4 separate regions of the Homo sapiens genome follow, and all the other regions are linked to region 3. The links are contacts of gene promoters, found by promoter capture Hi-C in blood cells and fetal thymus (Javierre and others, 2016). All regions are on one chromosome and are shown on one strand. Each heading gives the region's core, a stretch centred on a gene start or on the middle of the fragment in contact. The rest is flanking DNA. Distances are from core to core; before and after follow the strand shown. Region 1 overlaps TAF2 (TATA-box binding protein associated factor 2). Region 2 overlaps ENPP2 (ectonucleotide pyrophosphatase/phosphodiesterase 2). Region 3 holds the start of MRPL13 (mitochondrial ribosomal protein L13). Region 4 has its middle 160 kb from the start of SNTB1.

Evidence for each region. The method cuts DNA at HindIII sites, captures the fragments that hold promoters and counts their contacts. A CHiCAGO score of 5 or more calls a contact.
Region 1: a fragment that was not itself captured here is called in contact with the fragment with the promoter of MRPL13 in region 3 in 1 of 17 cell types (total CD4 T cells); the score reaches 5.3 in total CD4 T cells.
Region 2: a contact is called between a fragment that was not itself captured here and the fragment with the promoter of MRPL13 in region 3, in 2 of 17 cell types (fetal thymus and naive CD4 T cells). The highest score is 6.2, in fetal thymus.
Region 4: a fragment that was not itself captured here is called in contact with the fragment with the promoter of MRPL13 in region 3 in 4 of 17 cell types (total B cells, naive CD4 T cells, total CD4 T cells and 1 more); the score reaches 5.6 in total B cells.

Annotation. Positions count from the first base shown.
Region 1 is chr8:119,799,137-119,806,569 of GRCh38, forward strand. It overlaps TAF2 (TATA-box binding protein associated factor 2), which reads right to left. Exons shown (of 26, transcript NM_003184.4): 4 at 7,147-7,265; 5 at 4,742-4,883; 6 at 2,658-2,889. Among named protein-coding and RNA genes, the nearest start is that of TAF2, 30 kb to the right of the region's middle. The HindIII fragment of the contact is 4,933 bases long and covers 3,017-7,433 here.
Region 2 is chr8:119,630,114-119,637,625 of GRCh38, forward strand. The region is part of intron 2 of ENPP2 (ectonucleotide pyrophosphatase/phosphodiesterase 2); the gene reads right to left. Among named protein-coding and RNA genes, the nearest start is that of ENPP2, 5.0 kb to the right of the region's middle. The HindIII fragment of the contact is 1,251 bases long and covers 5,093-6,343 here.
Region 3 is chr8:120,440,643-120,447,789 of GRCh38, forward strand. It overlaps MRPL13 (mitochondrial ribosomal protein L13), which reads right to left and starts at 4,508. Exons shown (of 7, transcript NM_014078.6): 1 at 4,426-4,508; 2 at 2,543-2,666. The coding sequence starts at 4,452. It overlaps MTBP (MDM2 binding protein), which reads left to right and starts at 4,777. Exons shown (of 22, transcript NM_022045.5): 1 at 4,777-4,946; 2 at 5,791-5,871. The coding sequence starts at 4,829. RefSeq lists an enhancer at 4,236-4,415. The HindIII fragment of the contact is 4,989 bases long and covers 3,028-7,147 here.
Region 4 is chr8:120,971,548-120,978,834 of GRCh38, forward strand. No RefSeq gene overlaps it. Among named protein-coding and RNA genes, the nearest start is that of SNTB1, 160 kb to the left of the region's middle. The HindIII fragment of the contact is 4,475 bases long and covers 1,943-6,417 here.

The sequences.
Region 1 (7,433 bases), core at 4,233-6,732, 640 kb before region 3:
ATTGATTTTTTAAAATTTTTTTATATTATCATTTTTTATTATACTTTAAGTTCTACGGTACATGCGTACAATGTGCAGGTTAAATATGTATACATGTGCCATGTTGGTGTGCTGCACCCATCAACTCATCATTTATATTAGGTATATCTCCTAATGCTATCCCTCCCCCATCCCCCCACCCCACGACAGGCCCCGGTGTGTGATGTTCCCCTTCCTGTGTCCAAGTGTTCTCATTGTTCAGTTCCCACCTATGAGTGAGAACATGTGGTGTTTGGTTTTTTGTCCTTGCGAGTTTGCTGAGAATAATGGTTTCCAGCTTCATCCATGTCCCTGCAAAGGACATGAACTCATCCTTTTTTATGGCTGCATAGTATTCCATGATGCATATGTGCCACATTTTCTTAATCCAGCCTATCACTGATGGACTGGGTTGGTTCCAAGTCTTTGCTATTGTGAATAGTGCTGCAATAAACACACATGTGCATCTGTCTTTATAGCAGCATGATTTATAATCCTTTGGGTATATACCCAGTAATGGGATGGCTGGGTCAAATGGTATTTCTAGTTCTAGATCCTTGAGGAATTGCCACACTGTCTTCCACGATGGTTGAACTAGTTTACAGTCCCACCAACAGTGTAAAAGTGTTCCTATTTCTCCACATCCTCTCCAGCACCTGTTGTTTCCTGACTTTTTACTGATCGCCATTCTAACTGGTGTGAGATGGTATCTCATTGTGGTTTTGATTTGCATTTCTCTGATGGCCAGTGATGATGAGCATTTTTTCATGTGTCTGTTGGCTGCATAAATGTCTTCTTTTGAGAAGTGTCTGTTCATATCCTTCGCCCATTTTTTGATGGGGTTGTTTTTTTCTTGTAAATTTGACTTCTTTGTAGATTCTGCATATTAGCCCTTTGTCAGATGAGTAGATTGCAAAAATTTTTCCAATTCTGTAGGTTGCCTGTTCACTCTGATGGTAGTTTCTTTTGCTGTGCAGAAACTCTTTAGTTTAATTAGATCCCATTTGTCAATTTTGGCTTTTGTTGCCATTGCTTTTGGTGTTTTAGATAAGAAGTCCTTGCCCATGCCTATGTCCCGAATGGTATTGCCTAGGTTTTCTTCTAGGGTTTTTATAGTTTTAGGTCTAACATTTAAGTCTTTAATCCATCTTGAATTAACTTTTGTATAAGGTGTAAGGAAGGGATCCAGTTTCAGCTTTCTACATATGGCTAGCCAGTTTTCCCAGCACCATTTATTAAATAGGGAATCCTTTCCCCATTTCTTGTTTTTATCAGGTTTGTCAAAGATCAGATGGTTGTAGATGTGTGGTATTATTTCTGAGGCCTCTGTTCTGTTCCATTGGTCTATATCTCTGTTTTGGTACCAGTACCATGCTGTTTTGGTTACTGTAGCCTTGTAGTATAGTTTGAAGTCAGGTAGCATGTTTAAAGCTGATCATTTACCAAAGACAATAAAGTTCACTGCTAATCTTATCAGTGGATAAACCTTTAAAAAGAGTCATTGTTAAGACAACGTAAGCAAAACCAACACAAAATATCCTGAATCTTTTCCACGAGTGATTTTACAAATCCTGTGAATTTCAGCAAGGCAAATATAAAAGGCAAACTGAGGAGCTCACCGAAAGCCTGCTGCCCTCAATTTTTATTCACATGACTAAAAGAAATGCTGTGGAGATATACGTGGTCAAATTATATGCTTATGTATTTCTTTTTTAAAAAATAAACCTAAATTGAAGACGAAAAAAGAGAGTTAACAACTAATAAATCATTTTCTAATCAGCAGAAGTCTCATGCTTGGGGAGGCCTAAAACTGTGATTTGGCCTGTCAATTGATAAATGAATTGTGATAAGATATGTGCTGGGAAGAAACTAGAAGTCTTCATGAGTTTGCTAACCAGGTTTCTAACTCTGTCTGTTTTCCTCTGTATAGGTTGAAGAGAGAATAAATCTTGCTCTTTAATTTTGAATTTACAATATTTTAGATTCCAGAGATGGGACCACAACATTCAAAAACATGATAAATGAAAAGATGTCATTAGTAATGAACAAAATTAGTTACAGAAATCTACCTATATGCTAAATCAAGATATAACTGAAGCTCTTTTGAAATGCTAAGACTCTGTTGGAAAATAATCTGAAATTTAAATACAACATTTTGAAAGAAATTCATTCAAGAATTCACATCATTATATATATTAGATAAGGAAACATTTTCTCTCTAGTCATATTCTTGATAGTTGAAAAAAGAGTGAAGGAAGACAATATTTCATTAATATCTACCTTTTTTTTTTTTTTTTGAGATGTCGCTCTGTCATCAAGGCTGGAGTGCAGTGGCACAATCTCAGCTCACTGCAAGCTCTGCCTCCTGGGTTCAAGCCATTCTCCTGCCTCAGCCTCCCGAGTAGCTGGGACTACAGGCGCCCACCACCACGCCTGGCTAATTTTTTGTATTTTTAGTAATGACAGGGTTTTACTGTGTTAGCCAGGATGGTCTCGATCTCCTGACCCTGTGATCCGCCCACCTTGGCCTCCCAAAGTGCTGGGATTACAGGCATGAGCCACCGTGCCTTGCCAATATCTATCTTTTTAAAAGCAGTAAAGGGCCAGGAGGAGAGTAAGAGAGGAAAGCTCTGACTTACCTCATGCATGTATGGATCTACCAGTATTTCAAATGGTCCAATGGCCAAGGAGATATTTGACGCTGCTGTAGGAATGGTAAGCATATAATGGAAAGTTTTCTTCCTCATATCATGAGTATACACTGTCTCCACCAAATCGCCATTAGAAACAGCAACCATTGCAGCATCTACTGTAAATTCTAATTTCCATGTACACAATTCAGAGTATGAATCAACACAAGGGAACCAAAATCTAGAAAAAAGATTGACAGTATAGAAAATGTATTCAAAGAGTTCTCTACATTGTTTTCCCCACATGCAAGTTATTTTAGCATTTCTAGAAAATGAACAAACAAAACCTTTAGCTATTTGGCTACTGAAGCTTTTTACTGTACAACCTGAAAAAAATCTGATAAAATAAAATCTGTTTCCAAATACTATTTGGCAATATTAAGAAAATATATTATGTGGTACCATCAGTTCAAACCCTAAAAAGAGTTAAGCAATTCTTAGCTTTCAGTGTTTTAAAAAATAATTTTAACTTGTATCCGCATATTAGTCAGTTTTTATGCAGCATTCATTTCTAGAAACTAAAAAAGGCTCACAGCAAAAAGTTTTATAAAGCATAACTAACATTCAGAATTTATTCCATTAAATTATAAAACTGCTTTTTTGGAGTATGTAACGTATTGTATAAATTCAAACTGAGTGCTGGTTAAGTTAGATATAAAATTTATAGTCAGCTTTCATCAGTTCAGTAAGGTGTTACGTGACAGGGTAGGTACTTAGTATTGAAGCACAAAAGTGTGTAAGACATTATCCCTGGTTTAGAGAAGTTATTATAATAATCTGAGGACAGGCTGGGCGCAGTGGCTGACACCTGTAATCCCAGCACTATGGGAGGCTGAGGCAGGTGGATTACCTGAGGTCAGGAGTTGGAAACCAGCCTGGCCAACATGGTGAAACCCTGTCTCTACTAATAATACAAAAATTGGCCAGGCATGTGGCATCTGCCTGTAATCCCAGCTACTCCAGAGGCTGAGGCAGGAGGATCACTTGAACCTGGAAGGTGGAGGTTGCATGAGCCGAGATTGCATGAGCCGAGATTGCGCCACTGCACTCCAGCTGGTGCAACAGGCTATCTCTACTAAAGATATGACGAAACCTGATCTCTACTAAAAATAAAATAATTAGCCAGGTGTGGTGGCACATGCCTGTAGTCCCAGCTACTTAGGAGGATAGGTAGGAGAATCACTGGAACCCAGGAGGTGGGGATTGCAGTGAGCCAAGATTATGCCACTGCACTCCAGCCTGGACAACAGAGTGAGACTCTGTTTCAAAAAAAATAAATAAATAAGCAGAGTTGAGTAGTAGAATGTGGAGTGGGGAAGTAGAGTATGAAAGCAGGTGAGAGGAGGTCTCTATAATCTTGTAATATTCTTTGTCTCTAGATGTAAATTATGTAGGCTTGTTCACTTGTGAAAATTCATCGAGCTTTACATTCTGTGCAATTTTCTGTATGTATGTTTTACTTCAATATAAAGTTTTTAAAAAAGAAGGAATCAAGTGAGATGATTATTTTAGAACAGTAGACATGAAAATGAGAGAGAAGAAGGGAGATGTAAGATTGAGGAGGGGTCGGGCATGGTGGCTCATGCCTGTAATCCCAGTACTTTGGGAGGCTGAGGCAGGCAGATCACTTGAGGTCAGGAATTAAAGGCCATTCTGGCCAACATGGTAAAACCCCATCTGTACTAAAAATATAAAAAATTAGGCAGGTGTAGTGGTGAATGCCTGTAATACCAGCTACTTGGGAGGCTGAGGCATGAGAATCACTTGAACCCAGGAGGCACAGGTTGCAGTGAGCAGAGATAGCACCCCAGTGTATTCCAACAAGGGTGACAGAGCAAGACTGTCTGAAAAAAAAAAAAGAAAAAAAAATTTTTTTTTAAGAGGAATGACTAACAGAAAGTAATTTGAAAGAAGTCTAAATTTGGAAGGGAATAAAACTAGTATTTCTTGTTTTACACCAAATGTATGTCTTGCTTATACATAAAAAATGCAATTTAAAAATTAATTGAAATATTTAAGAATCTATAATCTACCTTGTAGAATTTTGATACCCACAAGAGAAAACATGAGCACCTCTCTCTGCCATACTTCCCTCTACACTGGGTACCACAAAATGAAGACCTCCTTTGGGCTGATCCAAAGAAAAATTGATGTGTATCTTCAGGACCTTTAACTCTGCAACAAATAAACATATACACACATTGATACATAAGTTACAGTGGTCTATATAATAAAGACAAAGATTTAATGCTGAACATGAAATGGAATTGAGGACTGAGATTTATATGAAAAACCACACTACTTACCCTAGTTTAGACTTTTACCATATGTCTGCCTATATTAACTCAACAGGCTGCCCCTATTGGTTTTCTACCTCCAATCAATTATAACTATTGCTTGTATTATTTTCCCAAAATACACCTTTGGTTACGCCATATCCTCCTCTCAACATTTCTGACAATGTACAATGCCTAAAAAGTCCAAAACTCCCACACTGCACACTTAGGCCTTCCAAATCCAACCCCAAACTTACTGATATAGTTTGGCTCTGTGTCCCCACCCAAATCTCATCTTGCAGCGCCCATAACTCCCATGTGGTATGGGAGGGACCTGGTAGGAGGTAACTGAATCACAGGGGCAAGTCTTTCCCTTGCTGTTCTTGTGATAGTGAATAAGTGTCACAAGATCTGATGGTTTTCAAAATGGGAGTTGCCCTGCACAAGCTCTCTCTCTCTCTTTTTGCTGGCAGCCATCTGCATAAGACATGACTTGCTCTTCCTTGCCTTCTGCCAAGATTGTGAGGTCTCCCCAGCCATGTCAAACTATAAGTTCATTAAACCTCTTTTTCTTCCTAGTCTCAGGTATGTCTTTATCAGCAGCATGAAAACGGACTAATACACTTACTTTTCAAGTTCTTTCTCTTATTATATTATCCCACAAACTTAACCCTGGGTGACTTTGGGGAGTACAAGGATGAGAGGTAGAGTAGGGAACACCACCGGAGAATTTGCATTATTATCACGTTTTTTGTTATGCTTGATTTCTTCACTATAAACTGTGTTGCTTTCATAAGATTTTAATTTCCCTCCAAGAATTACAATCATATGCACTATCTCCAAACCCTAAAAATGCAATGACGACTTCCACGTCTGTCCCCTAAATTAGGGTAAGTTCCTCCACAAACCCTACCCCGTCCCCAGCACCCACAACGGAAACCAATAAACAAAACAAGGACTCTTTTACTTCCTTGATTAATTTTTATAAGGCTAAATAAGCAAGGCAGAAGCTAATATACAATATTACAATGGCTAAAACTTTATACAAGACACAAAGAAGGTTTAAAAAGTCTGCAGACTGAGTATCAGGAACCATGTGTTTTAGCTTTAACTTCACCAATAATTTGCTAAGTGAAGTTCAGCAGGTCACTCACTCTCATTAGACTTCAGATTACTCTTCTGTAAAAAGAAGGAATTTAACCAGATTTTTTCAGGATCTTTCCTGCTACAAAATGCTACAATTCTAAACTAATTTGATATTGTGCAGGTTCTACCTATATGATTTTTTAAAAATATTTTTCATGGCCAGGCGCAGTGGCTCACGCCTGTAATCCCAGCACTTTGGGAGGCCAAGGAGGGTGGATCACCTGAGGTCAGGAGTTCGAGAGCAGCCTGGCCAACATGATGAAACCCTGTCTCTACTAAAAATACAAAAATCAGCCAGGCGTGGTGGCAGGAGACTGGAATCCTAGCTACTCGGTGGCTGCGGCAGAAGAATTCCTTGAACTCGGGAGGCAGAGGTTGCAGTGAGCCAAGATTGCGCCATTGCACTCCACCCTGGGCAACAAGAGCGAAACTCCGTCTCAAAAAAAACAAAAAAAAATTTTTTTTTTAGCTTTAAAAAACAACGGTGAAATAAATTGCTTTTTTCACAGCCCTGAAATGGTATCATCCTGTTAGCCAGTGATCCTTAATAAGAAAAAGAGCTTCCAACCCATTCTATATATTTCAACTGGTTAATTTACAATTTTGACATCGTTAATGTTCTTTCGTTTTGTTTTTGTTTTTCTTTTTTTTTTTTTAAGACGGAGTCTCACTCTGTTGCACAGGTTGGAGTGCAGGGGTGCGATCTCAGCTCACTGCAATCTCCACCTCCTGGGTTCAAGCAATTCTCCTGCCTCAGCCTCCTGAGTAGCTGGGATTACATGCGCCCACCAAGCCTGGATAATTTTTGTATTTTTAGTAGAGATGGGGTTTCGCCATGTTGGCCAGGCTGGTCTTGAACTCCTGATCTTAGGTGATCCACCCGCCTCAGCCTCCCAAAGTGCTGGGATTACAGGCATGAGGCACAGTGCCTGCATCATTAGTTCTCATGTAAAATTCTCTAGTGTCTGAATCTAACGTGATTTTAGTGTACAGTCAATATACTCTTGGTGCTTTACCATCAACGTGTTTCCATAGCTCTGATGGAACCTTAATGCAAAGTTCTCCATTTCCTGCATCAGGGTCCACAGCACTAACTGCAGCTGCATAAGCATTGGAAAAATAATTGAGGTTTCTCCTGGGGAAAAAAAAGAGCCAACTTTTAATAATAAGCCATGTATCTTACCAAGCATTTTTCTTTCTTTCTTTTTTTTTTTTTTTTTTTAGATGAAGTCTCACTCTGTTGCCCAGGCCAGAGGTCAGTGGCACCATCTCAACTCACTGCAACCTCCACCTCCAGGTTCAA
Region 2 (7,512 bases), core at 4,468-6,967, 810 kb before region 3:
TTTTTTTTTTTTGAGACGGAGTTTTGCTCTTGTTGCCCAGGCTGGAGTGCAATGGTGTGATCTCGGCTCACTGCAACCTCTGCCTCCCGGGTTCAAAGGGTTCTCCTGCCTCAGCCTCCTGAGTAGCTGGGATTAGAGGCACCCACCACCATGTCCAGCAATTTTCGTATTTTTAGTAGAGACAGGGTTTCACCATGTTGGTCAGGCTGGTCTTTAACTCCTGACCTCAGGTGATCCACCTACTTTGGCCTTCCAAAGTGCTGGGGTTACAGGCTTAAGCCACCACATCCGGCCTATTTCTTTCTTTACTTTCAGAGTATCTGTGTGAATTTTTAGCCACATTTAATCTTTCTTCACTCATTCACCTGATTTTTACTATTTTCTTACAACATTAATCATTCTCTAAATTTGTCCTTTGCTTTGTTTTTGGAAAATAATTGAATCTCACTTAATAGTCGGTCCCTATCAGTTACAGTTCTTGCCAAACCTAAAGACAAGCAAAACTAAAGACAACTTTGTTAGAGTTAGCCTTACACTCATAATGCCAAGATGTATCTCAAAAGAAGTACTGTACTTAAGATCAAGTTATTGACAGCTTCAAATTAGGGTATACTCCTGGGGCTGGGTGGATTAGGATATACCTATGTCAAAATTCATTCTCGGATGATTTGAATTCAGCTGAGAATGACAGGAAAGAAAAAGGGAAGGTAGTTTGAGCCATATAGAACCTCTTATAAACCAATAACCCAAATAAATTTGAGCTGCTATCTCTTTTTTTTTTTCTTTTTTTTCTTTTCTGAGACGGAGTTTTGCTCTTGTCACCCAGGCTGGAGTGTAATGGTGCGATCTCGGCTCACTGCAACCCCCGCCTCCTGGGTTCAAGTGATTCTCCTGCCTCAGCCTCCCGAGTAGCTGGAATAACAGGCACCCGCCACTATGCCCGGCTAATTTTTTGTATTTTTGGTAGAGACGGGGTTTCACCATGTTGGTCAGGCTGGTCTTGAACTCCTGACCTCGTGATCCGCCTGCCTTGGCCTCCCAAAGTGCTGGGATTACAGGTGTGAGCCACTGCGCCCAGCCATGCTGCTATCTTTTTTTTTTTTTTTTTTTTTTTTTTTTTTGAGACGGAGTCTTGCTCTGTCACCCAGGCTGGAGTGCAGTGGCGCAATCTTGGCTCACTACAAGCTCTGTCTTCTGGGTTCACACCATTCTCCTGCCTCAGCCTCCTGAGTAGCTGGGACTACAGGTGCCCACCACCATGCCCGGCTAATTTTTTGTATTTTTAGTACAGACCGGGTTTCACCGTGTTAGCCAGGATGGTCTCGATCTCCTGACATTGTGATCCGCCCACCTTGGCCTTCCAAAGTGCTGGGATTACAGGCGTGAGCCACCACGCCCAGTCTATCTCTTTTAAATAAAATACAGTGAGTGTATGATGACACTCAGTAATGCCACACACTCCTGTGTGCAATGGAAAAGACCATCTTGATGAGTGTACAAAAAAAATAAACAAAATGATTAAATTAACAAATAAATAAAATAGAACAATAGAGTGGAATATTCACTCTGCCTTTCCAGGGTCTATTCCGTCCCAGCCATCTTCTTTCACGACAAGCTCTAGTCCCAACTGTTTTCCTAGGAGTTCTGCAATCCACCTTCATATTCTTTTTTTAATCATTTTTTATGGATGAATAATAGAGGTACATAGTTTTGGGGTGATAATACATTCATGTAGTTGATAAAAATCAAGTCAGTATACTTGGAGTCTTCACGTTCCCTGTCCTTCTCCCTACACCCAGCCTAAGATGTTTAAAATCAAGAAAAATCAAGAAGCAGAAGGAGAACGATGTTAAATGTCATTTCCAGGCTCGCCCAAGCCATTTATCTGAACATTCTGCTCATCCCTCAGTCCTTTGTTCCTGCATGCATTTGAAGTTTTTAGGACTTCTCTCTTTATTGTACCTGACGTAATGTCAAATAGGGAAAGATTATCCGATTTGTTAGAAGTCTGAGTTTTAAAATCTGTTGTCTTCCTTTACTTGACCTAAATCAAGAGAACATTGATGTAAGCACTTCAGATGTGTAACTTATTGAGAGGCGGGATGAAAACTGAAACATCAACAAACTTGTGGTATCCCAAATTTTTCATCATTACTGAGATGGCCGTAACAGCGCAGAAAACAACTAAAACAAACAAAAAGTACTCTCCAAATGTATCAAGGCAGAAATATGTGATAAGTATGATGGAGGCTTGAAATTTCTTATGAGGCATTTGCTAATACCTTTATGAGATTCAAATTCTATTGCCGCCTTTTAAAATACATATTCAAATGATGTTATTTTACTTCAAAGATGCAAGTCAGTTCCAGAATCTTGAAAAACAAATGTTCATAGCTTTATATAGTGTTCTTTTAAAAAATAGAAACCTCAAATTTTAAAATACACATAGGTACATATATGACATGTATAACAACAATGCAATGCATTTCTTATTTTTCACAGAAGCATAATTTCATGATTTAAAGAAACACCAATGTAAAACATACGTTATTTCATTCAAATTCATAATTCTGACAGAAACAGGTACAATTACTTTTACTTAAGTCAACTTTATGTCTAAAATATTCCATCTTACAATATGTATAGAGAGGTAGGGTTGTAGAATTCTAGTGCCGGCCGGGCACGGTGGCTCACGCCTGTAATCCCAAGACTTTGGGAGGCCAAGGTGGGCCGATCACCTGAGGTTGGGAGTTCAAGACCAGCCTGACAAACATGGAGAAAACCCATCTTTACTAAAAATACAAAATTAGCCAGGCATGGGGGTGCACACCTGTAATCTCAGCTAGGGCTGAGGCAAGAGAATTGCTTGAGGTGGAGGTTGCAGTGAGCCGAGATCATGCCATTGCACTCCAGCCTGGGCAACAAGAGCGAAACTCCATCTCAAAAAACAACAACAACAAAAGAATTCTAGTGCCATCTGTTCCATAAGATACAACAAAACTATTGATGATTTAAATTTTTGGAAGGAGCCTAACCGATGACAAAAGTTATGGCCAAAACATTACTTGATCTAAGGCTCCCAATCATATTTCCCTCTAAATGTCCCCCGTAAAGATGCAAATACTCAAATCTGGATGATGGCCAATAGAAGAGGCAGTATTTAAGTTTGGAAACATTTAGCTTAGCCTAAAGGGGGAAGGTTCTTCTAAGCTTTGTCTGCTCCTGTTTATGATACTGCTCTCTATCTGTTCCTCCCATTCTCCTTGGTTCTTAGCCCAGGTATTTCCTGAAAGTGAGAGCAAAACCTTAAAATGTGTTACCAGCTGTGGTTATACCAGCTCCTTTTCTCAAGAGCGTTAAAACAGGACAAGTTCCCTTATGTCTGCTGCCCTGTTTGAAGCATAACCCACAGGGCAAGGCAGAGGACAGTGTGCGTGGCATTCAAGATGCTGCCCAGCTCTAGAGTTAATACTGTATTATGCCTCTTCTGGAGTATATGGTTCGTTCTTTCTGGTCATACTTTTTTCGTATTGAATTTGCCATTTTTTATTGATGCTTCTGACCTCATTTTTTAGTAAATAGAACTTACACACAGGTCTACATGTCAGTATCTTTGCTTCCTAAATACATAACTTTTTATAAATATCCATTACTGCAACATCACTGTTCTCTCCTCTTCACAGCTGCTAGGCCAGATTTCATAAACTTTTTTTTTTTTAATAAAGAGGTCCACCTGGGAAGTTTTTAAACACCTGTGCTTTCAAAACATTTATAAACACAATGGTCTGACCTGCCTCGGTGACTCATGCCTGTAATCCTAGCAATTTGGGAGGCTGAGGCGAGTGGATCACCTGAGGTCAGGAGTTCGAGAGCAGCCTGGCTAACATGGTGAAACCTCATCTCTACTAAAAATACAAAAATTAGCCTGGCGCGGTGGTGGGCGCCTGTAATCTCAGCTACTCGGGAGGCTGAGGCAGGAGAATCACTTGAACCTGGGAGGTGGAGGTTGCAGTTAGCTGAGATCACGCCACTGCACTCCAGTCTGGGTGACAGAATGAGACTCTCTCTCAAAAAATAAATACATACATACATACATACATACATACATACATACATACACACAATGTCCTCATATAGAGCTCACAAACTAGAAGGAAAAAAAAAGATTTCTACGTAATTGAAGTTAAAAGTTAAAAACTTTACTTCAACATCTAAACCACTTAAATAGAATTTAATGGCCATCAGTAGCATAAATCTGAATGATTTGCACATCTGCTACCAAACAATAAAATGTTGTCATTTAAAATTAAAGGTATTGTTAACTCAATAAGGTATAAGTTTAAACACTGGCCTTCAAACCTAATTGAAGATTAATTAAATGAATTATCATATACTTAACACCTTATAGTTCTCATCAGCCTTAAAGGCATTTTCAAAAACTTTTTCAGATAAATAAAAGCGACTTTATCCCCATTTTCCTGGTTGGAAAATTAGATCTCTAGGCCTTGTATGAGTTAGCCAAGGCCTGGATAAAATTTTAGATCATCTCACTGTAACTACAGTATTTTTTTCATTAATGAAAGGTTTTTCAAACTTTTGTACATAGTTTTCAAATTTTAGAAGTTCTTTTCAAAATATAATTTTGGGGAAGATTTGCTGATTTTATTGATTCAAAAATCTAGGCTGAAGTTCATGGAAGACTGAGATTTCTGAGTATGTAAACTAGATAGAGGAGTCTCTACAGTTTTCAGATAGATGAAAAATCACTACACTACAGCCCCATTTAACAAAGAACTGAAAAATCTGTACCCTCCTTAGCTTCCAGTTCAGATAATTTCATTCCATTGACTCAAACTCCCCAATTTCTACCTGAAATTTCACATAAAGCCCCATGACAGGATAATCCTAATGACCGAGTTTTGCTCACAGAGCAAATGGCTGATCTACGTCCCCTTTACAGTTTCCTGCATTCTCCCATGCCAACATTTAAATAGCTTTTCATTGCAGAGCAAAATTTCTAAAATTATCAAATGAACATAAACCTTCTCACTTCTAGTTCCATTTTCTGATTTCCCTATGATTCTCAAAGAAAAGCTTTATCCATAAAGTTGTTAGTGACAGTCTACATTTCATATGAACCTATGAATTTCATTCACATACTTTTCAACTTTCCTTTCAAGCCACTAAAAACAATGATGAATTAAACTGAGCTTTTAAGTCTCTGTTAGCCAGCTATTCACAAGCTCACAAATTTCCTTTTGTCTTTTAAGAATTAAATTACTTACATATCAAAGAGGATATTCTATTTCCACCTGGAGACAGTTTCTAAATCACAAGTTTCAATAAAATAGACTCCTGCATAACACCACAAACATACACACTGCAAGTGCACATGAGTGCACAGACACCTGTAGACATATAAAGTCTCTTGCAGTCTTAAAGGCAAATCAAGTGGGCCACATCAGACATATGAGAAAAAGATGTCAAACTAAATCACAGTTATGGCTTATATTTTCTTAGAAAATTTATTCCACCCATCTCACCGTCTCATTAACCTGAATGCCCATTGTATTTACCCAACAGAATTATAAGTAGCTTTTCTCATTTCATATCTCCTAATAAATCTATAAATCTTTTATGACCTGGTATAAAAAATCCTGTTCAGCCATTATTTCCTACGCTAACAATAAATCCAGGTAACAAGTGTGTTAGTTAATTAATTATGACAGTCTGTTTGCACTGCCACAACCTTGAAACTAACACCCCAGTCCATAGTACAGCAGCGAGGGCATCCATGTGTACAGAACATTCTCAGCTATTGTTGAGGACTCTGAGAAGCTATGGTTACTAAACAACTGCATGCTTTTGAATGGTGGATCTCACTCTGATCAATCCGAAGCTAGCCATATATCAATACCCTTTGTGTTCCTTCTATTTGTTGCACCCTTGGAGCACTGAGCTTCCCAGGATTTCTTTGGCGCCTAAAAATGTTGTTGGAAATAGGCATGGCTGCCTCCTCCCCACCTAGTGTCTTATTCTTACAGGCTTATAAAATTCACCCAGTATTTTCTGATGGGAAGGCTTTTCTAATGGTCAGAATAACCAGTCACATGTGTCAATCGAGAGAGATCCTTTCTAAGCATATGCAGCATTTAAACGCATAAAGATATTTCCACTGTCTACAGGATGCTTTTACCTAGTTTACTAAGTACATCCTTGATTTTTATTCAGGAGAAATCAACCACAGTTCCTAAAAAGCACATAAGCTACATCAAAAGAAAAATTATTCAGGCATATCCAAACCATAAAATTCAGAGTTAGGTTGCATTGTATTCTAAGACTAAGCTTCACGTGGTTAGAAGTTTAATAAATTATTTTAGATGATATCATAAAGGCCTAAAATAACCAACGACTTAATTAAATAATTCAAGGAGCAAATTCGTGTAGCCCACTTAAGACCATTTAGGTTTATAAATTATAATATAGACCATACTACTTTTCTAGAAGTGGCATTTATTCATTAGTTCATATAGCTATTCTTATAACATGGAAATAATTTACTATACACAAAATATTTTCAAAGACTAATAAATCCAATCTATACTTTTCAAGTTTTCCAGTAGTGAGCACAGAAATTCAAGAGGCAATGAAACAGAATAATTCCTGGGATTTTTTTTTTTTAATCCAGAAAGAAAAGTAGAAATCATCTAAGTCTGCTCCTCATTGTACAGCTAAGGAAACAGACTTCACAAGTGACTTGCCCAACACCACACAGCAAGTTACAGGACTCCAGGGTACCAGCCTAGGATTTTAATGACTGTTTTCCAAAAGAAGTCACCTTTAAAAATAATGAGTGACTCAATTTTACATTCATTAAGGAAACAGCATTTAATTCTTTCAATCTCAGTTTTAGCCAGAGTAATATATTAAGAGGAAACAGAAAAAAAAAGTTCCCTTTAGTGTTCATTGAAAAGAACCAGCAGTTGGCTCTCAAGTTGCTAGCTTTCCCACATGACCATGCTAAGGATCTGATTCCCCTGTCTGTTCAGTCACAGTCAGTGTTAATGGGAGTGAAAAAGAGGCCTTTGAAGAGAGCATTTGCTGCAAATAAAAACAGCATTCTCTAGCTCAGTGATCCACTGTCCTCTGCCTCCCCAACAGAAGACGACTCATTTTGTCCATTTGGCTCCCTGGGGCTGCAAGTTTTGTGATCTATTTTCTCACTCTTAACCCCGCCACACCCCACTTCAATTCACTAATTCACTTCTAATATTATTCTTTCAACCTACTGGCATGATTCAAAAGTAACTTAATTGATGTAAGGAAGATTTAGTATTCCATCAATGTATGTGTCCTAACCCGGTTGATAATAAAATTTCAAGCTGGCTAAACAGAGGCAAGTGATGGTCTTTCATAACAATCAGATCAAGACATACAGAGAAACACAAAATTCACAGGAAGACAGACAAACATGCTGGAATGTCAGGAAAAGTCCAGAAAATATTGTTCCCT
Region 3 (7,147 bases), core at 3,258-5,757:
TCGGCAGGCAAGTTAATGGAACAGTATAGGTCTGAGTGGATTGACAGAAACAATTAATAGTAAAAAAATAAATAAAATAATAATAAATAAATAAATAAAGGAAAGAAAGTCAGAAAGGTAACAGGGACCATATTATTTAGGTTCTTGTAGGACACACAGAAATTTCATTTGGAAAAGATAACTGTAGTTGATCTACGGAGAAAGAATTACGTGGAGGCAATGGCAGAAGAAAACAGATCACAGTGAGGCAGTTTTTGGAATAAAACAGGATGGAGTACAGCAGCTTAAAATCAGAGTAGAGGGAGAGATGATGAGACGTGCCAGAGTTCAGATATACTTTTTTCTAATATATTTTTAAATATGTGTGTGTGTGTGTGTGAGTGTATATATATATGTACTTTTTTTATTTTTTTGGTTGAACAAAGAGGAGTCACAGATAAGGCAAAGCCTTCAAACCAGAGCAACAAAAAGAACAGTGATGCTATTAATTGAGACAGGGAAAACTGGGAAGGAACAGGTTGGTTTGGGTGAAGTAGATAAGAAGCAAGACATCTCCAAATGGACTTATTCATTGGAGATGTCTACTAGACAACAGATGAATTTGCTTAATAGAAATGTGTATATGTGAGTCTAGAATACAGGGAAGCAGTCAAAACTGGAGATTTAAATTTGGGAGGCATTAGCATATAGATGATTTTTAGATACATGAGACAAAATGCAATCATCTAAGGCATGAGAAGAGGTTCAAGGACTGGGCCCTGACGCACTTCCAATTTTTGGTGAGAAGAGCATTTGAGAGTTTAGAAGGCTGAGGATAGCCAAGGGTACTAAGAAAGGGAGAAGAAACAGGGAAACAAGTGAATCCAGGGAAACAAGTGAAGAATGTGTTTCAAGAAGAAAGTTCTCCAGATGAAAATTAGCCTGGACTCCTCAAAAGGTTAATGAGAAGAAAATAAAAGAAGGATTATTCTAGATTAAGAGATTAAAGGAACATAACAACTAAAGACAATACATAAACCTAGGTTGCATCCTGGTTCAAAAAAATAATAGCTGTAAGAAACATACTTGGGAAAACCAAAGAAATTTAAAAATGCACTGAACATGAGACCATCTAAATAAAGTACTGTTTCTTTTCTTACGTGTGTCAATGGCATTCTGGTTACATAGAGAGTATCTTTATTTTTAGGAGATGCATGCTGAAGTACTTTGGGGGAATTATAATGGCATCTGCAGCTTATTTTCAAATGGTTGAATAAAAAATATATGATAAAATGTTAACTGTATTTAGGTGGAGAGTATAAAGAAATTCATTGTACTATTCTTTGACCTTTTCTGATAGTTTGAAACCTTTTGTAATAAAAGTAAGAAAAAAGCAAAGGACAAACAACTCAGTGAAGAATTGACAAAAGACATGCACAGACATTTCACAGGACAGGAAGCTGTAAAGGCCAATAAGTGGTAAGATACTCAGCCAGCCATATTTGTCATCGAGAAAATGCAAATTGAAATCACAAAGCAAGCATTTTATTTCTACCAGAATAGTCAAAACTAAAAAGAACGAACATATCAAGTGTTATTGAAGATGAGGAGTAATGGAAACTCTTGCATGCTACTGGCATGATAAAGACTCAATAGTTGCTATGCACCTTAAAACCCAGTAATTCCTGTCTTTTGGGCATACCTTGGAAAAATTCTTCCATGTGTGCTAAGAAAATGGCACAAGAATATTGATAGCAACATTAATGTAATATAACATAATGCCAAAAAAATTGGAAACAAACCAATGCTGAGTATATTCATTTCACCATTATAATTGTTATGGTTAATTTTCTTTAAAATATCACATATTTTTATATATACATATTTGTATGTTTAATATATTGCACAATAAAAGCTAAATAAAAATGTGATCAATTGCAGCAAATGCTGTTGACAAGTCAACCAGTATGAGGACTAAAAACTGACATCTGGATCTGGCCATGAAGTGCTGGGGTAAATGAAGTCTATCAAAAACTATCTGTAAGCAGAAATCTTCTAGAACGAAAACAACTTTTTAATTTTATTTTGGAAAAAGGATACAGAAAAGCAAGTCTATTAGTCTTATTAGTGAAAATAAGCTTCCCATACCTAGCTAGCACCATATATTTTTCTAGGGGAAAAGATTTTTTAGAAGAGAGGGCAAAATTATTTCCCTTAAAAACTCTTTATATGGATGTCATCACGTGAAAAGACATATATAAAAGTGAAAGTTTAAGTCATGGGGCAAATCAGGTTATTTCTGAGTGTGAAAAGAAGGGCTACTAATAATTTCGCTGGGCAGTGGCATAAAATAGGCTTGTTCCGGGTAAACTGATCCATACGGTTTTCCAGTGAATAAGCCAAATTCAGTTTTGGGCGCTAGTATGGTTTCAGCAAGAATGGAATACAGGATCCTCAGGAAAAATAAAAAGGGCCCTTAAACTCAGCCCTGTTAAACTTCATCAAGATTCTATTCTGGCATGAAAACTACAGTGGTTAATGACAGGTCTAAAATAATACTTACTCAGTGCATGGTACACAGGTTTATGTAATCCCTGAAGTCTTATAGATGCCATAGCAGCAAGTTTGCCAGGTGGCTGCATTTTCCCATCTAAGAGATACCATATTCTAGCAAAAGTGGCCCATTGCTTGGGGGGGAAAAAAAAAAAAAAGAAGAGGAAAAAATAAAGATAATTATCATTAAAATGGAAATACAGTAATTAAATTTATTATCATATATCATCACGTTTCTACAATTAATGTCAACAATTTCTTTGAAAAATAACTCTATTGCTAAAGAATTTTTGTTTTCATTTCTATTTCTGGAAAAGGGTTGTTTTTTCTAATCATTCTGCAAAGACAAACACAGTAATTATTCCTTCCTGGTTTCCTGTTAGCAATATGACTTACGTTTTGTTATAAATATCCCAAAGATATATTTCCCTTTACGGTATGACTTTTTTTTTTTTTTTTGTATAACACATAATAGAATCTGGAGGGGCAATGAGAAGCTTGTAAGAAAGTAGAAGCTGTTTATGAAGGTCTTCAAAAACATTTAGAGATTATTAGGTACATTATATTGAAAGCTGAGTGGCCAACTGGAAACTGAAGACGATTCAGGAGTTCAATTCCTGGGGAGAGTTAAATAGAACAATGTAGTTGGGAAAGTACAGATGGGTGATGTGGAATAAATTTCAACTTTAAAAAGTTGCCTGAAATAGGTATCTTTAGGTTGCCTCAGGAATAGAGCATTGTTTTTACAGTCGTCATCAATGTATTCAAATTCTTAGAAAATTCTAGGCCAGAAAGATCTCCACCAGATGCTTTCTCTATGCATATACACAAGAGGCTAAACAATGCTGGAAAAATAGAACGAGGCTAGCTGGTCTTATTTTAAATTTACTTATCACAACCTCAAACTAGTCTACATATAAGAAAAAGGCCAGTTTTTGTCCCCATCCATTGTAGACTAATAGTTTGATACTTAGAAAAAAAAAATTTTTAATGAAAAAAATACAAATGCTGGGCGATGTCAGATTGCTGAAAAAGGTTTTAAAATTTTTATTTTACTTCCTGTATTTATCTCATCACAGACAGGCAACAAACAGCCCAAGGAAGGAACCATACTTGGAGCGGCACTGAGTTGAGAGTCATCTTAGACCGATATAACCCAAACTAACTCCTATTCTTCCACCTGAAACCTGGTTCAATCTCAGCCTTCCCTATCTCAGTTGATGACACACCCTCCAGTTGGACAAACCAAAAAACCTTGGGGTAATCCTTGTTTCTTCTTTTGCTGTTGGCCTATACTCAATATTCAGGAAGTCCTACTGGCTCCACCTTCAAACAAAACCTGACCACTTTCAACACACTCCATAGTATTTCTAGCGTGGCCTCTGCACCATCACGTCTCGCCTGGATTACTGTAACACCCTCCAAACATATTCTTTGCTTCTGTCCTCTACTAACCCCTATTTCTGAACAGTCTATTCTCGACCCAGCAGCCAGAGTGCTCCTTTTGACACCAGGTCAGATCCTGTTACTCCGTGGATCAAAACCCTCCAAAAGGTCCCCATTTTACTCAGTCAAAAAACAAATTATTGCAAGGGCCTACAATGCCCTATGTGATCCACCTTATTACCTCTCCGATCTGCTCTAATCCTCTTCCCCCCGCCCCCCCAAGAAAGACATGAAAAGGGCAGATTGAAAAGAAGAGGGGACGAGTAACAGACGAACGACATTAAGTGCTTGCCAGACTGACGACCCTCTTGTGCTTTCCCAAGTCACCTCTTGGCCGAGGGTCTCGGCTTCCCTGCCGCCCCAGCTTCACTACTTAATCTGCCGGAACCAACGCTCTCCTTCTGCCAGTATAATGAACCCCATCAAGCCATAAGAGTCCGAGCTCACCTGGGGCGCCCTAGAGAAACTCGACATATTCCTCTACTAGCAGGACCGTACGTCCTTCTCCTAGTAGCCACGCCGGGTCACTCAGCCTTACTGGCCCGGCGGGAAACGCTAACACCCAAGCAGGACAGTTCCTAGCCCGTCGAGCACTTGTCGGCTTCTCCCTCTTCCTCGAGTTTCCTCCAGTCTTCTCCACGGCAGCAATTTCGTCATGAAAGGAGCATATAATGCAGTTATTTAGGGAATAACTCCCAAAAATATCTCGCTTGGTGGAAAAACTGCGGAAAACCGACGGAGGACATAATTTCCAGCCGACCTAAACGAAGGGAACCGGAAATGCGTCATAGCGCGCGTCTGTTTGGATGTGGAAGCCGAGACCTAAAGTTGGGGGGTGATCTCTGAGGAGATGGATCGGTACCTGCTGCTGGTGATCTGGGGGGAAGGAAAATTCCCGTCGGCGGCCAGTAGGGAGGCAGAACATGGGCCAGAGGTGTCGTCGGGTGAGGGTACTGAGAATCAGCCGGGTAAGCGCTGGGATGAGAAAGAGCGGGAACGGCTTGTGGAGAGGGGAAGAAGTTTGAGTTTTGTGATCAAGTTCTGCTGAAGAGGGATCAATATGTAGTTGTCCCACGAAGCTGGGACTCTATCTGGGATAGAGTTAATGAGGGCTGCAAAAATAGCATCTTCATGGAAAAACAGGGACAAATTTGTGGATGCAAGATTCCAGCCCTTAGAAGTTCTTGGCATAGTAAATGTTTAACTTAATAAATTTTCTATGCCTTAGTAATGGAATTTCCTGCTTTTTGGAAATATATGCATTTATTATTTCTGCTCCTGTGTTTCACATGCAAATAATACGGAAAGGAGCAAGATGGACAAAGATCTTGCTGTCCTACAATTTACATCTAATGGGAGGAGACATCCCACATATAACCTAAGTTTTAAAAACAAATGATGAATTTTAAATGATTTTAATTGTTTGCGATTGCACTGCTTTTTGGTGCACCCGTCTAGATTCAATATTGCATTTTATGTGTTCATTTGTTTCGATCAAACAGGCATTTTGAGGAGTAAATGTATGTGGTTGTGTATAAGGTATTGTCACAGAATTTCCCTTCTCTTTAAAATTATTCTTTTGAGGGGAATTTTGCATTCGTGCTAACTGACTGGCATGTACAGATCGGGAGCCTTTTCTATTTTCTCTGATTGCTTTAGATTTTCTGTATCAAAACTTGAACAGATCTTGAGCAGCGTTTAGTACTTTTATGTACAACCTACTGGTCTTGAGAGTCTCTGATGGTGAAATTGGACTAAGTTAGATTATGTAAATCTAGAGCCCTTTGAGTTAGTCTATCTTTTCTTTTTCAGACTTCACAGCAGCAAATGTTTATCACCTCTTGAAAAGAAGCATTAGTGCTTCAATTAATCCAGAAGATAGTACTTTCCCTGGTAAGTATAATAAACTCCTCTTTTCTCTGGCACAGCATTTGTACTGGAAATTAACTTAATTAATTTGGACCCTAAGGAGTACAAGGAAATACTTCTTGACTGTGTACAAGGCACTGAGTTACAGAGATAACTAAGGGAGTACAAAACTGAAAAATAAATTACCCCTTTCTTCTAGATGCTTGAATATAGTAAAGTTATGAAAATTATTCTAGGTTCTCAGCTTGAATTTTGCTCCTTTTATGAAATTTTCTTGCCTATCTTAGTTCTGTATAACTAAGGGGAGTGTGGCTTTATGAGGATGATTTTATCATGAGTAAAAATATGTAAAGCTCCCACACGGATTTCCTTACCATTTATTTATTTATTTATTTCTGTTCTTAATTACCTATTTCTGTTCTGATTCTCTTAAAAGTACTTAATAATTACTAAACACGATGAGCTTTTCTCAGTTCTTATCTGCTTTGACTTTTTGAAGTATTTCGCTTTTTTGACCAACCGTACTTTGTAAAAATCTTTCCTCCTTTAGCTTCTACTGGCATTATACAAATGCATTTACTGACTTTGATAGTTATCTTTTCTTTTATTCCTGCTTCTTGTCCTTTACTGGAGAATGTCCTTTAAACGTTCTGAAAATGGAGATGCCAAAACAGACCAATACCTAAAAACTGAAGGAAGTTTCTTTCCATGCAAGGAAGGGTCTGCTCCTTTTGATAATTTTGTAGTTCCCGTGACTGTACAATCTGCACCTTTCTCTTCTTTCATTAGAGAACCTCTTGTCTCTCGGTGTCAAATAACACCATTGGGGAATGATTTCTAATATGTGTATGCTACTCTAGCTTGTTTTCCAAGGCCTAGTAATACTCATTAATTTTCAAGTTGGTATAATTTTAGTCAATACCACTATTATTGCAGGAAAGATTTTCTTTGATTTGTACCTCAAATGTATATGTAAAAGAGCTCTTGGGAGTATTCCAGGGGTTCTCATGATAAATTTTACTTCCCCCTTGCGTGTTTAGGGTTTCTTATACACACGGTCCTTGTTTTGTATGATAGTGTTGTTCTTTATAATTGATTGTGCAAAGCAATCCTAATATAATCAATGAGAAAAATTAGAATTGTCCCATGACCTTTAATATCTTTTGTCAAAACATTAAAAATTCTCTTACTGTTATAAAATTTTATGGAAATAAAAAAATAGTAAAAATAAAATTTATTTTGTACCCTGTAATTTTAAAACCTTAGGTACATTGAGAATTAAAGTGTTTTATTTCTTTGT
Region 4 (7,287 bases), core at 2,930-5,429, 530 kb after region 3:
AAGTTGCAGTGACCCGAAATTGCACCACTGCACTCCAGCCTGGGTGAGAGATCGAGACTCTGTCTCAAAAAATAAAACAAAATAAAATAAGCATCATTATGCTCATCAGATCAGCTTCAGAAATAGAATTGACATGTAGTACTCTTAAAGTCCCAGAACTTTATCCATTTTCATATCCATTTTCTCCCCAATGATAACTCCATGCCTCTTTTAATTGTCCCCTTCCTTTCCTCTGTAGTTCCTCTTTTCAGTTTCACCACCTGTATATGTATCCCTAAATATATGTATCCCTGTTCTGAACTTTAGGATCATGTTACGTATCTGTCTTCTGTGCCTTGCTCTATTTGCTTTTCATTGTGTCTACAATCAGTTAATATTGATGTATGCAGTTAGAGATCATTAATTTTCAATGCTATATAGTATTTCACTGACTATAAAACAACATATGCAGTCTCATTCTATGAACAATGACCATTTAAGATGCTTGGTATTACGAATAATGTTAAGAGAAGCATTTCTGCAAAATTTCTCTCAGTATAAAGTTGTCAATTTCTCTAAAGCAGGGGTCAGCAAAATATAGACCAAGGACCAAATGCAGCCTTGGGTCTTGCACTCCTGAGCAGCTGGGACTACAGGAGTGCAAGACCATGCCTGGCTCATTTTTTTTCTTTCCTTTTTTTTTTTTTTTTTTTTTTTTGTATTTTTAGTAGAGACAGGGTTTCACTGTGTTGGCCAGAATGGTCTCAAACTCCTGATGGCAAGTGATCTGCCTGCCTTGGCCTCCCAGAGTGCTGGGATTACAGGTGTGAGCCACTGTGGCCTATTTCTTTTTAAATTATTATTTTATTAGGTTAGTGCAAAAGTAATTTAGGTTGGTGTAGCAACCTAATATTAAATAAGAATACGTATTTTAGGCGTACTTTTTGGTAGATATACAGTTAAAAATGTAAGTAAGGCTAAGTAACTTAGCAAGACCATTCAACTAGTAAGTGGCAGAATTGGGATTTGAACTTCAGTCTCTTTGGCTCCAAAGCTCAATCTTTCTAATCACTTCTCATGTGCCTAGGTTTAAGTCAGTGTTATTTTATTGTATTCCTTTCACTTAATTGCTTCTCTATACTGAGATACCACAAAACAGATTTGTACAGCCTCCATTTTTACCCAAATCAGTGGAGCCTGTCAAGTTAATTGGTTGTGACACACAGCTTCCAGAACATGTAATTATCAGCTGCATTGAGTGGGAAGTTCAGATGACAGTGAATAGTACATGTAGACAGAAATCTGTGTGTTGCTACAACTGAAGAACAAGCCAAAAATGTAACATTAATCAAATGCCAATGTAGTAGTATACCAGAAAATAGTTCTATGTGGAAATGAAAGCCGGAGAAATCTACAAACATTCATATTTGTAATCCACAATTAGTCTCTGTGCATCATATTCTCCTTTTTAACACCCAGATATGGAGAACCAGTATATTCTACTGGATATAAATGGAAGAATGGTCCCTTCTTTCATTCTACAATAACCACAGTTTCATCCTCTTATGCCTATAGCAGCTGACAGATGAGTGTGACTGATTACTCAGCCAAGTCAACTTTCAAATATGAGAAGCAAAAGCTCTTTCAGGAGGCTCAGGCAGCTCCAAGAGCTCCTGTACCATCTGTAGTGGAAGGAGTTTTGTAGCTAGACAACCAAGGTTTGTGTCCTGGCTTTGTCACTTACAAGCTATGTGATTTTGGACAAATGACTTCACCTGAGTCTGTATCCTTATTGGCAAAAACTTGTAAAGTAGCTCAATACTTTTAAATATTGGCTGATTATTTGAATACCCTGGATAGCTTTTTTAAAAATACCATTAAAGTGGCCTTACCTGCCCTGGGCCAATTAAACCAATTTGTTTGTAGTTGGAGAGAAGAGTCATGGATCTTGGCATTTTTAGGAAGCTTAATTCATTTAAAAAAGTGGGCTAGAACTACTGCCTTATGGATGGTTGTGTGATTCCTAAACTGGAAAAAAGGACCTTATAAAAACATCTGTTTGATTCTCTCCTTTATAATACAGAAAGTGATATCCAGGGAGGTAAAGTGATCCACCCAATGTTCAATGGCCAGTTATGTAGCAGAACCAGCACTAGACCAAATGTTTCTTAACCTCTAGCCTTGCACTCATTAGAAAGACATTGAATCTTCAAACTAGAAACACCAAAGACTCTTTCCTCTCTTTGGAAGAAATAGTATTCCCTCTTAATTTCAAAAATGCCTAGTTTATATGTTAAATTGTTACCTTGCATAGAAAAATGCATCACAAGCAAACAAATGAAACAAACCAACCAGGTGTGTGTGTGTGTGTGTGTGTGTGTGTGTGTGTGTGTGTGTGTGTTTGGGGGTGGAGGTGCTTGCAGTGATAAATAGGACCCAGGTCATTCTGAAGAAAAATGGTGTATTAGTCTGCTCAGACTGCCATAATAAAACACCATAGACTGTGTGGCTTAAACAACAGAAATGTTTCTTACAGTTCTGGAGGCTGCGAAGTCCAAGATCAAAGTGCTGGCAAGGTGGGCTTTATTCTGAGCCCTCTTCTCTTGGTTTGTAGGTGGCTGCCCTTTCACTGTGTGCTCAGATGTCATGTGACTTCTTTATGTATGTGTATGAAGGGAAGGGAAAGGAGACAGAAAAAGGAAGGAGGGGGACTGAAAGAGAAGAAAGGGGAGAGGGAGATAAAAGTGGAAGGGGAGGAGAGAGAGGGAGGGAAAAAAGGAGAATGGGCCAGGTGTGGTGGCTCACACCTGTAATTCCAGCACTTTGGGAGGCTGAGGCAGGTGGATCATTTAAGGTCAGGAGTTCAAGACCAGCCTGGCCAACACGGTGAAACCCTGTAGGTACTAAAAATAAAAAACTTAGCTGGGTGGTAGTGGCGTGCACCTGTAATCCCAGATACTTGGAAGGCTGAAGCAGGTGAATCATTTGAACCTGGGAGGTGGAGGTTGCAGTGAGCCGAGATCACACCACTGCACTCTAGTCTGAGAGAGAGAGTGAGACCCTGTCTCCAAAAAGAAAAAAAAGAGAATGCTAGGTCTCTGAAATTTCTCCTTATAAGGCCAATTATCTCAACATGAAGATCCTACCCCGCTGACCTCATGTAATCCTAATAACTTAAGGCCTCATCTTGAAATACTATCACATTGGGGGTTAAGAATTCAACATATATATTTGGGGTGACACAGTATTCCATTCTTAAAATATGACATTTGAATCTCCTTATAAGAGTGCCTAGACCAAAAATAAGTTCTCTTATTATTATGAGTCTTATTATGGTCCATGGGCTACTATAAAAAATCCTACATTAGTGGTTTTCAATCCTGGATATAAATTAGAATAACCCGGGAGCTTTTTACATAATACTGATTCCCTACACCTCTTCTCCCAAAAACTGGATCAGAATCTTTGGGGATGGCAACCAGGCATCAGGGTTGAGAACCACAGCAGCTGGGCCCTGAAGCGCAGGGAGGTTGTCAGGTTACCTAGTGCCAAGTAGGAGGTAAGACTCATGTGCCATAAATGTCTGAATATAAGCTGAGGACTTTCTCTGAAATTATTTTTCATAAAAGAATAACCCATTTATTGCATTATGTTCAAGTTCTTACAATGTTTCTCATGCTATGGGCACTCTCTCATTTACTATGTGTGTACCACACCGTTTTTAACAACTATCTTAATGCTATGCAAATTGAGTAACTTGGGATTGCTTCATATTTAGACATATAGGATGACACTATCACTTAACTTCTTTTCCTTCCATCATACTCTGAAACTCCCATATTAATAGGTCATGGACTGGTCCATGGACTTTTAAAATCTTGGGCAAGTTACTTCCCCTCCTTAGGATTCAGGGTTTTTCTGCATTTAATAAATTGAAAGCCTTGGACAAGACTGAATAACATTGTATAAAGCCCCTGAATTACAGTGCCTCTAACTCTACCTCTTCACCTATTTTGCATACACAGTTTGGGCAAACCACTTACATCACTTTATTTTCTCTTTAAGTTTGCTGTCATTTGGTGTGTAGTAGGTTGTATTTGGTTCAGAATATTTGCTGCCACTCTGTGGAGCAATTATACTTTCTTACTCCACTGGACTCAGAAGTACATATTTGACTTGGTTTAGCCAATGAAATGTGGGCAGAAGTGATTTGAATCATTTTTGAGCAGAGACTTCTAACAGCCAGTTTGTGTTTTTGCCATTTCTTTCTTCTTTGCCATGAAATCACTGACATCTCATAGAAAAGATGACATATGGTTTATCGTCTAAACTAGGAATGTTTAAAACAAGAGATTACACTACTGAGTGAAAATATATGCTATTTATTAATAATTGCTCTGGAACAATAGGCATAAACTAGGACAGTGTTGGATAAACTGAGATGTATAGTCACCCTTCAGAGACAGAGACTTTTTAGCCAGCGTAGGTCCCAAGGTAGAGACAATGTGGAGCAGAACCAGAATCAATCACAATGGACACACATGAGAGAGCAGTAACTCTTTGTAAGCCACTAAGATTGTGGGGACCATTGTTACTACAGCATAACTTAGCCAACTAATAACAGAAACTTAAGCAACACAGCTGACTGATGCAGAAAGCTCATTGAAAAGTGGCCTTATGTCAATACAACAAAGTGGGTCATTCAAGTGACTGCTGATACTGAAGATATGTTCAGAGGTATCTGGAGTTGCTGTGGCTTCTTTCAGTTTAAAAATAAGGAAAGTTACCCCAGTTATCATAATGGGCCTTGTGATTCTGTCCCGGACAGGCCTAATCTCCAAGTGCTGGCCTCACCCAAAATATTCTTCCAAGGGATTTCTTTTGTAAATATCAACGTTGATTCATTTGACCATTCTACTCTGGCCAAAGATGATAGAACCAGGGTGGAGCCCTAACTAAGTGTGAGCAATCTGTAGGCTGGCCAGCAACCTACTTGGTAGCCTTGTATCAATGCTCTGATTTACACAACAGTGGTGTGTTCTGATACTCTCTCTTGAAAATATCTGATCCAGGGATATGAGACAACATACTGGTTTGCAGGATTTGAAAATCACACAGAAAAAGGGCATGGGATATAACTGAGTCATGCTAACAGTGGATAGTAGAGTATGAGTTAACGAGCTTGGGCCACTGAAGATACAAACAGTTTACGTGGTTATAAGAGATGTTGCCAAGCAAAATGTGTGTTCCCCAGATTACATTCTGGTCTTGGCGAAGCCAGCCTGACGGTGGTTCCTGCATTCACATGAAATTTGACTTGTATTGTTCCTGGCTGTCCCTAACACTGACAGCACAGACAAGATTCTTACCTCCAGCACCACTGTTCTTCCATTCCAAGAAAATTTTCCAGCATCGGGCAGGAAGGACAACCAAAGGCAATTAACAAAAAATTGGTAACTGGCAAGAGTAAAACCATACATGAAAAGTTAAAATGCCTCTCTATTTTAAGTGTGGAGCTTCTAGGTCCAACTCAGCAAGACCTTTGCACTATTTGACTTGCCTTAAATGAAACTGCTTTGCATTGGAATGGACTTTTAATTTGTCTGGATATAATGATAGTTTTTTTTTTTTTTTTTTTTTTTTTTTTTTTTTTTTTTGAAGAGGTTAGCTTGGATCTTCTCATAAAAAAAGCATTTCCTCTTACTTCATGTGGCTTATTTCACAACCAGAGAGTGTCCTTTGTATTTTGTTTCTGAGCCAATATTCTTTTTTCTTATGTCTTTAAAACTGTTGCTTAGAATTACTGGGGCTAGTTCCTCCCAGCCTCAGTTAGGAAAGATATATGTATATGATAAAACTTCACTAGCATCTGAATTAACTCATTCAATACACAGAGAAAGACTTAGGTCACTGGTTAGCTTTTGTTTTCTGTCAAGGTTTATAGTATCTTAGAGTAAGATCTGTTGTCACAGATCATTAAGTCTAAAAGTGCTGACGGGTAAAATTACACCTTTAGAGCCTTGTGGCTAGTGAGTGCCATGGATGGAGCAATATCCCAGGTATATGGAATCTCAGTTCAATGTTCTTTCTCCAGATCAGATTCTCATTCTCCTTTGCAGCTTTTACGTTTGTATATTGCAGCTTATCCCCTCAAATGCAATACTTTGGGTTGGATTTCTAAAAACTCCATTCATTTATTCATTTTGTATCTTCTTTCTAATATCTTTTCTAATCCCCACAACAGCTGTATATGCCAGGTATAGTGCTGAGCGCTGGGAATACACAGAAAAAGATGAGGCAACTTTTACTCTTGAGAAGTGGCAGCAATCAGAAATCAGCAATTTGATTTATTAGTAATAGATATCACAATTTAATATCTTAAGTGCTGTGGGAACTCAGTAGAAATTAACCAGTTGGGCTGCAGGGAATGGGGAAAAAAGCTTTCTCATAGGAAGTTACATTTAACAGCATTTTGAAGGATGTGTAGGAGATTGTCAGATGGGTAGGGTTGGGAGGAGAATAATAACAACAAAAAACCCCAGCTTGCACAAAGAATCACGAAATGAATGGAGATAATGTCACAGCAGCAGAAGTATAGGGTGTGAAAAGAGATGTGAGGCACTTGGAAAGGTAGGTCTAGAGAGTGACAGGCCTTATTGGCCATTTAAGAAGTTTGGATTTTCTTTTAAAGGTAGTGGAGATGAGAGGAGAGAGGAGAGAAGGAAACAGAGGGACTAGGTGAGAAGATGCCACACGCAACTGAATGGCTAAAAATCCAGATTGCAAGAACTACCTGCAGTAGGAAGGTTTTGAGACAGTGGGCTAAACTCAGAATCTGTCTTGAAACAGTGACTTTATGGGTTGAAGGGAAGTAAAGAACCATAGTTGACTCTGAGGTTACCAATTTGTAAAATTGGGTGGGTAATGACGGCAAATTGTGAAGAGGGTAATAAAAGGAACAGAAAGGTTTTGGGCAAAAATGATTGCATATTAAGATGTGTCACCAATAAGGTGATGCTTAAGTGGTAACTATAATTATTTAGCTATGAATTATTGAGAAGGATCAGGATGAGATCCAGAAGGAAGGAAGCAGGAATGTAGCTGCTTTCTCCTTTTAAATTTAGTATGCATTCGAAATTTAAAAGGAAACAAAATACTTGAGTGTTCTTCCAAATGGTTTAGGCAAGGTCACATAAGGAGGAACGAGGAAAGGAATTTAGAGCAGTTTTGTGCAGCGGATGAGGGTTTGAGAAACTTTAATTTAAACACTGTTAATCTGTAAGTTAATCACCTCTCTGAAATACATCC